3 separate regions of the Homo sapiens genome follow, and all the other regions are linked to region 1. Evidence: promoter capture Hi-C in human tissues and cell types (Jung and others, 2019). All regions are on one chromosome and are shown on one strand. The core of a region is centred on a gene start or on the middle of the fragment in contact, and the rest is flanking DNA. Distances in the headings are between cores, read along the strand shown.

The links. The method cuts DNA at HindIII sites, captures the fragments that hold promoters and counts their contacts. A contact is called where the count stands out against the background at its distance.
Region 2: a contact is called between a fragment that was not itself captured here and the fragment with the promoter of CALHM2 in region 1, in 1 of the 25 tissues and cell types used here (spleen).
Region 3: a contact is called between a fragment that was not itself captured here and the fragment with the promoter of CALHM2 in region 1, in 1 of the 25 tissues and cell types used here (mesenchymal stem cells).

Annotation. Positions count from the first base shown.
Region 1 is chr10:103,451,120-103,455,777 of GRCh38, reverse strand. It overlaps CALHM2 (calcium homeostasis modulator family member 2), which reads left to right and starts at 3,408. Exons shown (of 4, transcript NM_015916.5): 1 at 3,408-3,622; 2 at 4,493-4,658. CALHM1 (calcium homeostasis modulator 1) reads left to right here. Exons shown (of 2, transcript NM_001001412.4): 2 at 31-2,538. The coding sequence ends at 516. It overlaps LOC124902494 (a long non-coding RNA gene), which reads right to left and starts at 3,335. Exons shown (of 2, transcript XR_007062275.1): 1 at 2,542-3,335. RefSeq lists a silencer at 3,007-3,336 and enhancers at 3,175-3,796, 3,797-4,417, 4,366-4,658. The HindIII fragment of the contact is 12,335 bases long and covers 850-4,658 here.
Region 2 is chr10:103,026,782-103,031,439 of GRCh38, reverse strand. The region is part of intron 1 of CNNM2 (cyclin and CBS domain divalent metal cation transport mediator 2); the gene reads right to left. Among named protein-coding and RNA genes, the nearest start is that of CNNM2, 110 kb to the right of the region's middle. The HindIII fragment of the contact is 3,746 bases long and covers 1,290-4,658 here.
Region 3 is chr10:103,842,745-103,847,402 of GRCh38, reverse strand. The region is part of intron 1 of SH3PXD2A (SH3 and PX domains 2A); the gene reads left to right. Among named protein-coding and RNA genes, the nearest start is that of SH3PXD2A, 11 kb to the left of the region's middle. The HindIII fragment of the contact is 7,884 bases long and covers 1-4,658 here.

The sequences.
Region 1 (4,658 bases), core at 2,159-4,658:
GCCCCGTGACTCTCTCTCATCTTCCCACAGGCGCTGGGCTGGTCCTTCGTGCTGCTGACCACTCTGCTGGCATTCGTGGTGCGCTCTGTGCGGCCCTGCTTCACGCAGGCCGCCTTCCTCAAGAGCAAGTACTGGTCCCACTATATCGACATCGAGCGCAAGCTCTTCGACGAGACGTGCACGGAGCACGCCAAAGCCTTTGCCAAGGTCTGCATCCAGCAGTTCTTCGAGGCCATGAACCATGACCTGGAGCTGGGTCACACCCACGGGACACTGGCCACGGCCCCTGCTTCCGCAGCTGCCCCCACGACCCCCGATGGTGCGGAGGAGGAAAGGGAGAAGCTGCGTGGCATCACGGATCAAGGCACCATGAACAGGCTGCTCACGAGCTGGCACAAATGCAAACCGCCTCTGCGGCTGGGCCAGGAGGAGCCACCGCTGATGGGCAACGGCTGGGCTGGGGGTGGGCCCCGGCCTCCGCGTAAGGAGGTGGCCACCTACTTCAGCAAAGTGTGAGGTGTGGCCAGCTGAAGAGGCAGGAACGGGGATCTGAGCCCACAGCCCCTCCAACCCCCAAACCAGGTGGAAAAAGGAAGGGTTTCAGTGCTGGGCAGTACTCCCCTAGGCAGATCCACACTCCCTAGCACTCGCCTGCCCATTGGAGGCAGGAAATTTGGAGCTGGAAGGGGATCTGATGCCTTCAGGTGTGACACTGCCCTGGATGGCCCTAGGGCAGTGGGCCCATGAGCAGTATTAGTCTAAAGGGGTCGGAACTGTCATGGCAGGTACAGGGACCAATGGCTCCCCTCTGCCCAGCCCTTCCCAGGCTGATGTTCACTGTCTCCTCCCAGGTTCAACAGACATCCCTGCCCCAGGGTCCACCCTCGTCTGTGGCTGTTCAGTACCTCTCTTCCTTTATGCTCCGGGCTCGGGGAGTGGGAATCATCAGGCGTCTCATGAAGTGGGAGCCCTCTGATTTGGGCAAGCGTGTCGTAGGTGAGACTGGGTGTGCCGGGGCAGGTCCATAAGGACATGACACACAGCCTACCTGGTGTGACACACCTGGGGTGACAGGCGATGAGACAAGATGTCAGAAGCTAGGTTCACATGGAAGAGGTCAGAGTGTGTGGTCACCATGGGGGTCATGTGACAATTGTCCAGGTGGACTGCATGTTTATTTAGCACAAACCAAGCACAAAAGTCCTCCTGTAGAGGGGTCTTTGAAAAACCACCTTAATACCCCCGTCACATCCAGGTCTCCAGGGGAAATCAGACCATCCCCAAGGCTTGAGAAGTTAGACACAGAAGCTGAAGTCTCTCCATTTTTCTCAAAGACCCCACCTCTTGGGGATGGAGTTCTAAGAGGCTAAGAGGAGCTCCAAGGCTCTAGCCCAGGTGGGATGAGGGTGGAGGAGAGCAGTGTAAAGAGAAAGCAGCTCAGATTCCAGAGTGAGACAGAACTGGGTCAAATGGTGTCTCTACCACTCACAAACCCTGTCCCTGGGCCAGCTGCATCACTGCCTGTGCCTTCGTTTCTTCATCTATACAATGAGGATGAGGCCCCCCCGGCCCGCCATCATGGGGTTGCTGTGTGTAAAAGCACATGGCACATAGTAGGCACCCAGCACAGGGTGGCTAATGTATTTGTTGATTTCTGAACCTAAGGACTTCCTTCCTCCTCCCCTGGGCAGGGATGAGACAGCAACACAAACACTCGAGCTTCCATCTTGTTGAGGAGGAAACAGAGGTACAGATAGGTTTCTCAGCACCGCCCTCAGCTCTGAGACATAAGTCCCAAGCATCTAAGGATTCATTTTGATCTTGGCATGATTCCATCCTTTTTTATCCATCCTTCCCTCTATTCCCACTTCTGGGGTCCAGTTTCCCTCCTCTTAATTATTTGGGAGGAGTTGCTCAGATCTTTGTGGGCCAAGGTGGGCTGGGAGGGCTCTTCCAGGAGGTAGGAGTTGGTATGGGCCCTGAAGTCAGGGAGGATTAGGATGAGCAAAAAACAAGGTGTATGTTGGTGGGTGGCAGCACTTCCAGTGGGAAGAGAAGGCCCGGAGGTATCAGGAGGTACAAATGTGATGAAGAGCAAAGCTTTGGGTCAGGCACACCTGAGTTCAAATACCAGCACTGCAGGACTTGTGGCCAGTCACCCAGCCACTCTAAGCCTCAGTGTGTCTGTCTATAAAATGGATATTAGAAGACCTGCTTGGCCAGGCGGAGTGGCTCATGCCTGTAATCCCAGCACTTGGGAGGCCAAGGAGGGAGGATCACTTGAGCCTGGGAGTTGGAGACCAGCCTGGGCAACATAGCAAGACTCTGTCTCTGTAAAGTAATAATAATAATAAGAAGAAGAAGAAGAATAAAGAGAAGATTTATAATTTTTTTAAAATGAAAAAATTATTTTTTAAAAAAGACCTGATTTTCAGGATTGTGGTAAGGATAGAGGAAGATAACTTTTAGGGAAGGATCTGGGACTGTGTTTAGCACATGCTGGGATCTGAAACAAACAAATAAACAAGCAGAACTTGGTACCTTTTCTTTCCTTCGTACATATGGTCAAGCCCAGCTCAGGGAGGCCAGCGGGTCACTCGGCAGCTCCACCATGACGGAACCACGAGCACTGCAGAGCTGACAGATGTCGGGGGTCCTCTCCCTCCATGCTAAGGGTCATCTAGCCTGTCCGTAGACTCTCCTGTGCAGCATTCCTGACCCGTGACGCTTCAGCCCGCATCTTGACCACTTTTAGATACAGGCTGGGCAGCTCTGATTATTACACAGGGCTTCCTTCAGAAACCTGCCTCCTTGTAACTTTCACCCACCAGTTGGAGCTCTGCCTGCAGGACCCGGAGAATCCCTAGGCTCCTGAATTCAATCCTCAGCCCTCCAGGGATCCGAAGCAGGTCCCGGGGAGTTAGCTGACTATAGGTCAAAGAGTCAGCATTGGGGATGGTTTGTCCAGTCAATGGACAACTCTGAGGGAGAAGGGCCAGTAGAGGGTGGGGCCCTGGCCCTGAGCATCCTGCAGGGCTCAGCGCGGGCCTGACGACACCCTCCCTTGACCCTCGCGGGGTCTCCTTTGGTAGCTTCTGCCCAGCGGGGGTCAAGTACGTGGGGTGCTCTTGAAACTGTCATGGGGGGCAGGTCTGGGTCAGATCTCCCCAATGCCTCCACATCCCCACGTGGCCCTCCCGACTGGTCCCATTGGTGTGGAGCATGGCCCGGTCCGGGTCTGGGCCGAGGGCGGAGGGCCAGCACGGCCCAGGGACGGCGAGCAGCGGGTCGGTGGGACGCGCAGCAGCTGCAGAACAGGCATCTCAACTTCCTCTCGGCTCCTCTCCTCTCGCGCCGCCCTCGGGGCCCGCCCTCCTCTGCCTGGTGGCGCCGGGAGGCTGTTTTTCCACTCACTGGCGCGCAGACTCCATCCCACTGTTTTCTTCTCTCTTTTCTGGAGTTAGATTAGTCTGAAGCCGCCACCAGCCCCAGGCCCCCGTGCAGAAGAAAAGCGGGAGGGAACGGCGGAGGCCGCCGCTGCCCTGCACCGCCCTCCTGGAGGCCACTTGGAGAGTCCGGCCCCGAGGAGGCCATGGCCACAAGTGCCCACAGCTGGCCCCAGGTAAGGAAGGGGCCCTCCCTGGGGTGTGCCAGGTGTCAGCGGAGCATGGTGGGGCCTGTCCCACGCTGCCCAGAGGGAGAGAGGCCCCTAGCTGAGGTTCCCTCCACCCGGTTGAACAGGGAGCAGTCCTGCCCCTCCCCGAGCCGCCAGTCTCCTGTCGTCACTGATGTTGGAGGAGGTCCCACTGGGGGTCTGGATGTGACCCATCCTTGGCCTGGGGGCAGTGGTCTCAGAAGATGGCCTGGCCCATCCTCTGCTCACCACCCACCCTGTGCAGGTATCTTGTACCCCACTTTGAGCCAGTTTATGAACCCAGGGCCTCCACAGGGAGCTAATTAGGAGCCTAGAAGCCAAGAAGGGAAAAGGATGGGGCAAAGGGGGCTGACTTTAACCCATTCTTCCCCAGCAGTGATGCAAACTGCCTTTCCCAGGAAGTTAGGCTGGAAGCTCCAGGCTGTGAAGTGGGGGAAGAATCAGACTCCTCCTCCTCCTCCTCCTCCTCCTCCTCCTCCTGTTGTTCCTCCTGGTCCTCCTCCTCCAGCTTCTCCTTTTCTTGGAGTCTGCATGGCCACATGGCTCTGCCTGAGCCCATCTGGCAGCCTTCCTTGGCAGGGACAGAAGGGGTGATCTAGAAGGGGTGATCCCTCCATGAAGCATGGAAGGGAACAGGGCTAGGTCTGTGTTTGGCGCTCACCCCATCCCTCCACTCCCTGGCTTCCTCTGGCCTGGGGAGTTTTGTTTTTCACCCTCCAGAGGGGGAGGACATGGGGCCACACCCTGGCCTGTCTCTCAGGCTTGTGTGGGTGGAGGCTGGGAAGGGAGTTGGGCTAAACTTCGCTGTTGCCCGAGGCCATGGCCACTTCCCGGCAGGTTGCCAGCGTCGCTACAGCCCAGACCAAGGCAGAATAATCTCCGGATGAGCTGGTGGCACCGCTGAGCCTTTGGTCTCACCAGGGCTTCCTGTTGCTGGCAGGCGGGGTGGAGCGGAGCTGCTGGGAGGCTGCTGGATAGGAGAGGGGTCACGGCTGCGGAAGAG
Region 2 (4,658 bases), core at 1,913-4,412, 420 kb after region 1:
GTGAGATGGCCACCAATAACTATACATCAAAGTGACTGCAACCACAGAGATATATCCCAGTAAACTCAAACAAAGTGTATATCCACAGCTTAACTTTCCCACAGCTGAATCCCAAAAATGCTTGGGACCACTCCAACATTGCCACACACAAGAGTAAGAGAGGGTAACTCAATGTGGAAAGAGTAATTTTGGCCCACAGTAAACTTTCCGATTTTTCAAAATTTACAAATACACATAAACATGTAAAACTTGCTAGGGGTCTTCCCAGGGCCTTGGAAGCAGCCCACACATCTGAGCACTTAAGCTTTAGCTTCATTAGCTTTGTGGTAATATGCTTTTCACGATGCACTAATTGAGTAACTACAACAAAGGGAGCATAAAGCACAGACTGAAAACCCTAAAATCTACATACTCCACCATCCCAGTCTCATCTAAACCTCAGATATAAAAATATTCCATCTGTCCATCTGGTCCTCCTCCTCCTCTTGTCCAATAAGCATCTTAAGTTCAACATGTCCAAAACTAAACCTATCATCTTCTTCACAAAACCTGTTTCCCTGCTTCTAATCCTTATACTAATGACATCTGTAAAGGTCAAATGTGAAACTGTGAAAGTCAACTTAGATGCCTCTTTTCCCTCTAGTTTCATCCGGCTATGACATATTGGTACCTAACATTGTGTTAGGTTCTAAATTTAAGACTGCCTCCTAAATATCGACTTCCCCCCCTGCCAAGAGGGAGCCTCACTCTGTTGCCCAGGCTGGAGTGCAGTGGCATGATCTCAGCTCACTGCAGCCTCCGCCTCCCAGGCTCAAGCAATTCTCCCACCTCACAAGTGGCTGGGACTACAGGTGTGCCACCACGCCTGGCTAATTTTTTGTATTTTTAGTAGAGACTGGGTTTCACCGTGTTGGCCAGGCTGGTCTTGAACTCCTGACCTCAAGTGATCCACCTGCCTCGGCCTCCCAAAGTGCTGAGATTATAGGCATGAGCCACCATGTCCAGCCAATATTGATTATTTCATAGTCTCCATCCCTATCACCAGTTCACCTAAATTCCAAGTCCTCATTACTTCTAATGTACCTAACTTTAATGTAATTTCCTCAAGGCCACCTCACTGATGCCATAGTAATCTTATTAAAGACCAAATCTGAACATGTTACTCCTCTGCTTAAAATTCTTCCATAACTTCCCACTGCATTTAGGAACGTTTAAGTTCTTTGGGATGGCATTCAAAGCCCGTCATGATGGGATCCTTCTCTAGCCACATCTCCCATAGCTTTGCTCATTCCATCCAAGAGCATACATTTTCCAATTCCCCAAACTAGATATGCTATTTCACTGTTCTCTTTGCCATAAACACTGGCCTCCCCTTGGCTTCTTTACTCTTATTCTCCCTCAAATATTCAATGTAAGCATCATCTCATCTTGGAAGTCTTCCTAACCTCACCTAGACCAGCTGGGTTTGGTGCCTGTCACTGTTCCCACAAAGCCTTCATTGGCTCCATTAGGGCACTTATTACCCTGTATTAATAACTATCTCACTCTCCTCTGAGATTATTTTTTTTTTTTTTGAGACGGAGTCTTGCTCTGTCTCCCAGGCTAGAGTGCAGTGGCGTGATCTTGGCTCACTGCAACCTCCGCCTCCCAGGTTCAAGGGATTCTCCCGCCTCAGCCTCCCTAGTAGCTGGGACTACAGGCACGTGCCGCCATGCCTGGCTAATTTTTTTTTGTATTTTTAGTAGAGACGGGGTTTCATCGTGTTAGCCAGGCTGGTCTCTATCTCCTGAACCTCGTGATCCACCCGCCTCAGCCTCCCAAAGTGCTGGGATTACAGGCGTGAGCCACCGTGCCTGGCTCCTCTGAATTTTTAGTCCTCTGTGAGATTATTGAAGGAAGGGTTCTCTTTCACATCTAAAGCCTTAGAAACTAGCACAGTGTCTGGTAGATTATTTATGTATTTATTTATTTATTTTGAGACGGAGTTTTGCTCTGTCACCCAGGCTGGAGTGCAGTGGCACCATCTCAGCTCACTGCAACCTCTGCCACCTGGGTTCAAGTGATTCTCCTCAGCCTCCTGAGGAGCTGGGATTACAGGTGCTGGCCACCACGCCCGCCTATTTTTTTTTTTTTTTTTTTAAGTAGAGATGGGGTTTCGCCATGTTGGCCAAGCTGGTCTTGAACTCCTGACCAGGTGATCCACCTGCCTCAGCATCCTAAAGTACTGGGATTACAGGTGTGAGCCACCATGCCTGGCCAATACTTTTAATAAAGCTTAACTAAATAGCTCAAATTAATCTTAAGAAAATAGGAGTGGGGGCCGGGCACGGTGGCTCATGCCTGTAATCCCAGCATTTTGGGAGGCCGAGGCGGGTGGATCATTTGAGGTCAGGGGTTCAAAACCAGCCTGGCCAACATGGTGGAACCTCGTCTTTACTAAAAATACAAAAGTTAGTGGGCATGGTGGCACACGCCTATAATGCCAGCTACTTGGGAGACTGAGACATGACAATCGATTGAACCTGGTGTGCGGAGGTTGCAGTGAGCCGATATCACATCACTGCACTCCAGCCTGAGTGACACAGCGAGACTGTCTCAAAAAAAAAAAAAAGAAAAAAAAAAAAAGAAAAAGAAAAAGAAAAGAAAGAAGAAAATGGGAGGGGGATGAAGATTATGGCGGAAATGGTATTATCTCTGCAAGATCTTGTCATAAGAGGAGATTGTCTTTTTTTTCCTGGGACACAATGAAGTAAACAAGGCCAATCAGTGACTGCCAGTTGATTATAATTTTAGCAACCATTTCCCAGAGGAATGACCAACTGTTGTTACCTAATCTAAGGCCTTGTACATAAAAGACACTCATTTCCTATTTAATTGTACTGATTTTATTATTTTAACTCTTATTGGCACCAAATTCTAGAAAGGTTACAATAGAGTTTGTTCTCAGATGAAGCCCACTTGAAAAACAAGTAGAAATCAAACCCTGTGCTCCTTCCTCTGTTGTGCTTGAGAATGTCTTCAAGAATTTTCATTATCTTCTTATAAACACAAAACATGAATTCAACCTGAAAACCGAGACTCTGATACTCAAATACAATGAGTTGTCAAGTAAAAAAAGATAAGTGTTTACTGAATGACTAGATGAATAAATGAGCGAATGAATGGCCAAAAGAACTCAACATTCATTTGCTTCCGTAAAGAACCTTAGAAACAGACCATCCTTTTGAGGGACCTGGTCCTTGGTAAAAATGACAAACTGTCTTAAGCTTTCTGTGAGTACGCACTACAAATGCCTTATGGAACATCACCTCAGTTCCTGATACAATGTTCAGCAGATCTAGGCTGCTCTCGGTCACTGACCCCTCATCAAAAAAGGCACAGATTTTAAGAGCTCAAATATGTGACAGGACCCTAGGCATACTATCAGTGATTAAGAACTTTAAAATTAGACAAGTATGGGTGTAGATGCTTTGACTCTGTTACATACTACCTGTGTGACTGAGAGCAAGTCATTTACCTTCTCATGGCCTCCCACTTTGACCGTCTGTAAATGGAGATATACCCTATGTTTACTATAAAAATTGAAAAATCAAATGAAAAAACAATTTAAATAGTGCCTGGCACATAGTAAGTGCTCAATAAATGATAATGATTATATTACTGATGAACTTTCTCATGGGTTAGGAAGCTAAAAATCATCTCAAATGTACATGCATAATACCTTTTAATATCTATAGAAACAGGATCTTGGGATTATTGGAATTATACAGCTATAAGTAGCTTCTTTCAAAATATAGATTGTAGGCTTCTATCAAAGACCATCATTTGTATCACCTGAGCATTCAATCCTATGTAGGCTTATTTTGCTTTAAAGTTCAATATAGCAACTCTACAAATTGTTTGCTCAGTTTCTCAATACCAAAATTTTGCAGCTGGGTGCATCGAATGGGTTATGGAGATTGTCCTCCCTCCCCTCTCACCTCTAGAAGTAGTTGCTCCCGCTTACTGGATGAGGCAGTGGGGAGGGCGGCCCATGAAGGAAGCTTGTACAGCCACTGCCTTTGTCATATTTCCTCTGTGAAGAAACAGAAGACTTCAGTTCCTGGGATTGGTTAAGCTCTAGAATAGAGAACTAAGGAACTACTTTGTATTTTCCTAAGAATCTCATCTCTCTTTGGGCAGAGCGCCATTGCAGCCAAACTGCTACACATTCTTTTTGCATCTTTGTCAGGAAACTGGAATGATAATAAACACAGGTAGCTTGTAATACACAATAAATTGAAGGAAGTTGGCACAGAGCAGAGAAAGACTCAAAGACTGAGGGAATGAGAAGGGGAAAAGCCAATGAAATAATAAATTATGTGCAATGGCCATACCAACCTTGACATTTTTAAAGATATTGCAAAGGTTTCCATGTTTATGATTAGAATTCACTTGAGGTCAATATGGCCAGTCATGAATTCATTCAACAAGTATTTTTCTTGAGCACTCACTATATGCTAAGCACTGTACCATGCACCAGCGATTAAACTCAAACACATACAAGACTGATTTCCTTACTGTCAAGGAACTGGAAGTCGACCAAGGAAGACAGGCAAGGAAAATTACAACATGTTAGACTCTTCTCTTAACTGACCTCCATGTAACAATGTGCTAAT
Region 3 (4,658 bases), core at 969-3,468, 390 kb before region 1:
GGTTGAGCCTGCAGTAAACCGTGATCACACCACTGCACTCCAGCCTGGGTGACAGAGTGAGACCCTGTCTCAAAAAAAAAAAAAATTCTAAAAAGCTAGGCATCGTGATGAACACCTGTAGTCTAGCTACCCGGGAGGCTGAAGTGGGAAGATCACTTGAGCCCAGGAATTGGAGGCTGCAGTGAGCTATGATTATGCCACTGCATTCCAGCCTCGGCAACAGCAAGACCCTGTCTCTAAAAACAAATAAGTAAATGCAATGCTTCAAACTACCTCTTCATTTATTTGACCTCTACCACACTCCCAGATAGTCTAGTAAACCTTATTCTTAGGGAAAATGTAACAATAAAAATAACAGCTGACCTTTCTAAATGTTTTCTATGTGCTAAGCATCTCATATGGATGTTCTCAGAACAGCCCCACGCAGCATGTAGCTCCCACCAGCATCCATACTGTACAGGTGACAGCACAAAGGCTCAGAGAGCTCAAATGAATTGCCAGATGCCACGCAGCTGATGAGCTGCATGTGGAGAGGCCTGCACTGACCCAGGTCTGCTGGCTCCAAAGCCTGCCCTGTCCCCACAGAGACCGCTTAATGACACATTACACACCCAGGATGCCTGGGCTCCATGGTTCCACCTTAGGCCTAGTTGGTTGGCTCCTCAAGCCGTGAGATCTTCCACATGTCACCTCCCCCTTCTAGAACTACATTTGCCCATCTAGAAAATGGTGCAACTGTTTCTTTTCAGGCTTGCCTTGCAGAGCGGAGGGCAGGTATAACAGCTGCTTTGGAAAGCACTGAGCCCAGAGATGATAGCTGTGTGAGGAGGTCCCTTGATCCCCCAGTCTGGGTTCTTAATTATCTAGGGCAGGGATGCTATACAAAGTGAGTTGTTCCTGACCCCAGGGAATTTTTAAACAAGGTTCACCTGCCCAGCCACCTCTCCTGAGAAGCCTCATAGACAGAGTCGACTCAGGAGTACTTAGGCTCTTAGTGAAGATCTCTTCTAGAAAACGGCCTCTGGTTTTCCTTCTTTCCAAACCAATCATTTTTTTGTGAACAGGAAAAGACAGAGTTATTCCCAGTCCCATCTCTCCCTGCTGTTACCTGAGCGGAGGAAGTGATATCTAAGTGGCTGAGTTAGCAAAGGGGAAACAGCTGTGGTTTCTGCCACTCCACTGGGCTGCTTTCTCTGTCCCTGTGCTGTCATTTCCCTTTGGCTGGCGAGGAAGCCACCCTCCCCAAGCCTGGGCGGAGGCCCATGGCTGGGTCGGGGTAGACTCTGTGTGTGTGTGTCAATGCAGCATAAATTATGCAGTGGGGCGGGTGGGACAATTTAGCCTGTTTCTGGGATCCCTGGAGCATGAACTTTAGACCTGTTGGAAACTGATCACTCTTACCTGATCTGACCACAACTTCAGGGAGTCAGGAATGGAAGTAATGCCCCATGTTGAGAATGAACTTGCAGGGTGTACCAGGTGGGGTAGGGATTGATGGAGTGTGGGCTGGTTTGCACTTTTGCCTATCACTGTGTGGTCCCTGATGGAGAACCTACGTTGTTTTCCTTTTTTGAGGCGTACTCTCACTAAAGGAGACCTTGGCACGTATTGTATCACCATCATCATCATAGAGCTGTTACAGGAAAGGGGTCCCGATCCAGACCCCCAGAGAGGGTTCTTGGATCTCCAGCAAGAAAGAATTCAGGGCAAGTCCATAGAGTAAAGTGAAGGCAAGTTTATTAAGAAAGTAAAGGAATAAAAGAATGGCTGCTCCATAGACAGAGCAGCCCCGAGGGCCACTGGTTACCCATTTTTATGGTTATTTCCTGATGATATGCTAAACCAGGGGTGTATTATTCATGCTTCCTCTTGTGAGACCATATAGGGTAACTTCCTGACATTGCCATGGCATTTGTAAACTGTCATGGTGCTGGTGGGAGTATAGCAGTCAGGATGACCAGAGGTCACTCTCGTTGCCATCTTGGTTTTGGTGGGTTTTAGCCGTCTTCTTTACTGCATGCTGTTTTCCCTTTTTTTCTTTTTCTTTTTCTTTTTTCTTTTTTTTTTTTTTTGAGATGAAGTCTCGCTCTGTCGTCCAGGCTGGAGTGCAGAGGCGCAATCTTGGCTCACTGCAACGTCCACTTCCTGGGTTCAAGTGATTCTCGTGCCTCGGCTTCCCGAGTAGCTGGTATTACAGGCGCACACCACCATGCCCGGCTAATTTTTTGTTTTTTTTTTTTTGGTGGAGATGGGGTTTCACAGTGTTGGCCAGGCTGATCTCGAACTCCTGACCTCAGGTGATCTGCCTGGCTCAGCCTCCCAAAGTTCTGGGATTACAGGTGTGAGCCACCACGCCCAGCCTACTGCATACTATTTTATCAGCAAGGTCTTTATGACCTGTATCTTCTGCTGACCTCCTGTCTCATTCTGTGACTTAGAATGGCTAAACATCTGGGAATGCAGCCCAGTAGGTTTCAGCCTTGTTTTACCCAGCCCTTATTCAAGATGGAGTTGCTCTGGTTCACATGCCTCTGACACAGCTACCACATATTGAATTCCCATTTTGTGCCAGGCATTGCATGGCCTTTGATTTATAACCTCTGGCCCCAGGGTGGCCATGAAGGTATGCATTTTTAACCCCATTTGACTCATATGGAACCTGAGGTTTGGAGAGTGCAGGTAGCATTGTTAAGAAAGCACAAACCCAGGCAGATGTGACCTCCCTCCCCTTCCCCAGCCTGCGCCTGGTTCTACACCATCACTGTGTCTTACACACTTGGTCCCTTTTCAGGGCACCCAGGGCTACAGGGGCTTCTGTGAGAAGGTGCTCCTCATGGGGAACTTGCCCTGGTTGCTTTTGCCCATCTAAGTGTTCAGAGCATATAGGGATTGTCCCTGTCCTTTGAAGTGACTGCTTTGTAAACTCTTTCATGATAGGCCCAATTCTGACCCAGCGTTATCCCATTTCCTGATGGCCCAGACCCAAAAGGCTATTTTAAGGGACTTGCCTGTGTGGGAGAATTTCTCTCTGTAACAACAGAGGAGGAGGCCTGGCCGGCCTGGCATGGGGCTGGCAGTGGAGCTCCGAGAGGGTGAAACTCTGTCCTGAATTCTGCCTCCTGGGCTGGAACAGATTAGTTGAGCCCTCAGCGCAGTGCCTGGCACCCAGAAGGGATAGAATCACTTCTTGATGAGTGTGAGATTCCCAGAGGTGGCAGCCCAGGGATTTCTGCTGGTCAGAGCCTCAGTGGGCTGGCAAACTGATGCTTCTCTTGCAGAGTTAAGGTCCGTAATAGAACAATGTCTGCACTTTGGTCTCAAGCTGGGATTAATTACTGACTTTAGTCATCACTCATTGGCAACTTGAAGCAAGCAGCCTCATGTTTTTTGTTATTTCTGAACGTGGCAGCTCCCAGGCAGGGGAAGTGGGGATGTCAGGTTAGAGAATGTATGGGTGGAGTCCATTTTAGATGCAGGCACTTGTCTCATTTAATCCCCACAGCAAACCCTGGTCATCATCTGTGTTTTATAGGGGAGGAAACTGAGGCTCAGGGAGGTGCAGCATCTTGCCCCATCACTGGCAGCAACAGTGGGAGCCAGGGTTGCATCCCAGATCTCTTCAGGAACAAAGCCCGACGGCTTTATCTGACAGCTTCCCTAGGGGATGGGGAGCTAGGGAGCTCGTCACATAGGTCCTGGATAAAACCCCAAAGGGCTGAATTAAACCCCAGGTCACCTGCCCATGTGACCCTCCCTCTGAGCCCCTCCCTGAAAACATGATGTGGTTGGAGCGGATGTTAAGATATGATAACAAGCTTGCTATAGGAACAGATCTGTGCCAAGGTCTGGCCTCTATTTGCAGGTTCAAATTTGTATTCCCCTTGAACTCTTGCCCAGGGCCACTTTTGAAGGCCTGGCCCTTCAGAGGGTTCAGCTGCCAGTCTCCACATCCTCCTCTTGGGGATGGTGGATAGCATGGCACTGTGGTAGGGAGCATGGAGGAGTTTAAGTTCCTGGTATTTTCAGCCCCATGCTTGCTTAGGCAAAACCAGGCTCTGGAAACCAGAGTAAGCACTAAGAGAGGGACTTGGGTGCCAGCAGTTGGAAGTTGAGGGCAAGAGGATAGGGGCAGAGCATCGGCAGCTGCTGTCATGGGCTGTGGCTCTGAAGCTGGCTATGAATCACAGCCCTGCCACTCATTAGCTTGTTTCACTTGGCCAAGTTTCTTCACCTCCTGGGCCTCAGTTTCCTAAGTAAAATGGGTATAATAATACTACTACCTAACCCATATGGTTGTTACTCATATGATAACTGTTCCATAAACGGCACTATTGCTATCACCAGCGTTATCATCCTTCTTGATTTTGCTCAGTTTCTGCCATCTCCTGGAAGCTTCCCTGACCTCTCATCTTAAAATGACATTTCCAGTCTACGAATTTTTATAATGTTAACTGTTTTACCTCTCATTTAACACTTACCAAGAATGACCTTGGATTGTTCAGCCTTTGGCAAGCTGATACTTACTCATATTCATTCATTCATTGTTTCATTCAGTCAATATTTGAATGTTTACTATGTGTCAAGCGCTGGGAACACAGCAGGGCAGATAAAAATCCCTGCCCGTTTAGAGCTTACATTCTGGTGTGGGAAAGGAAACA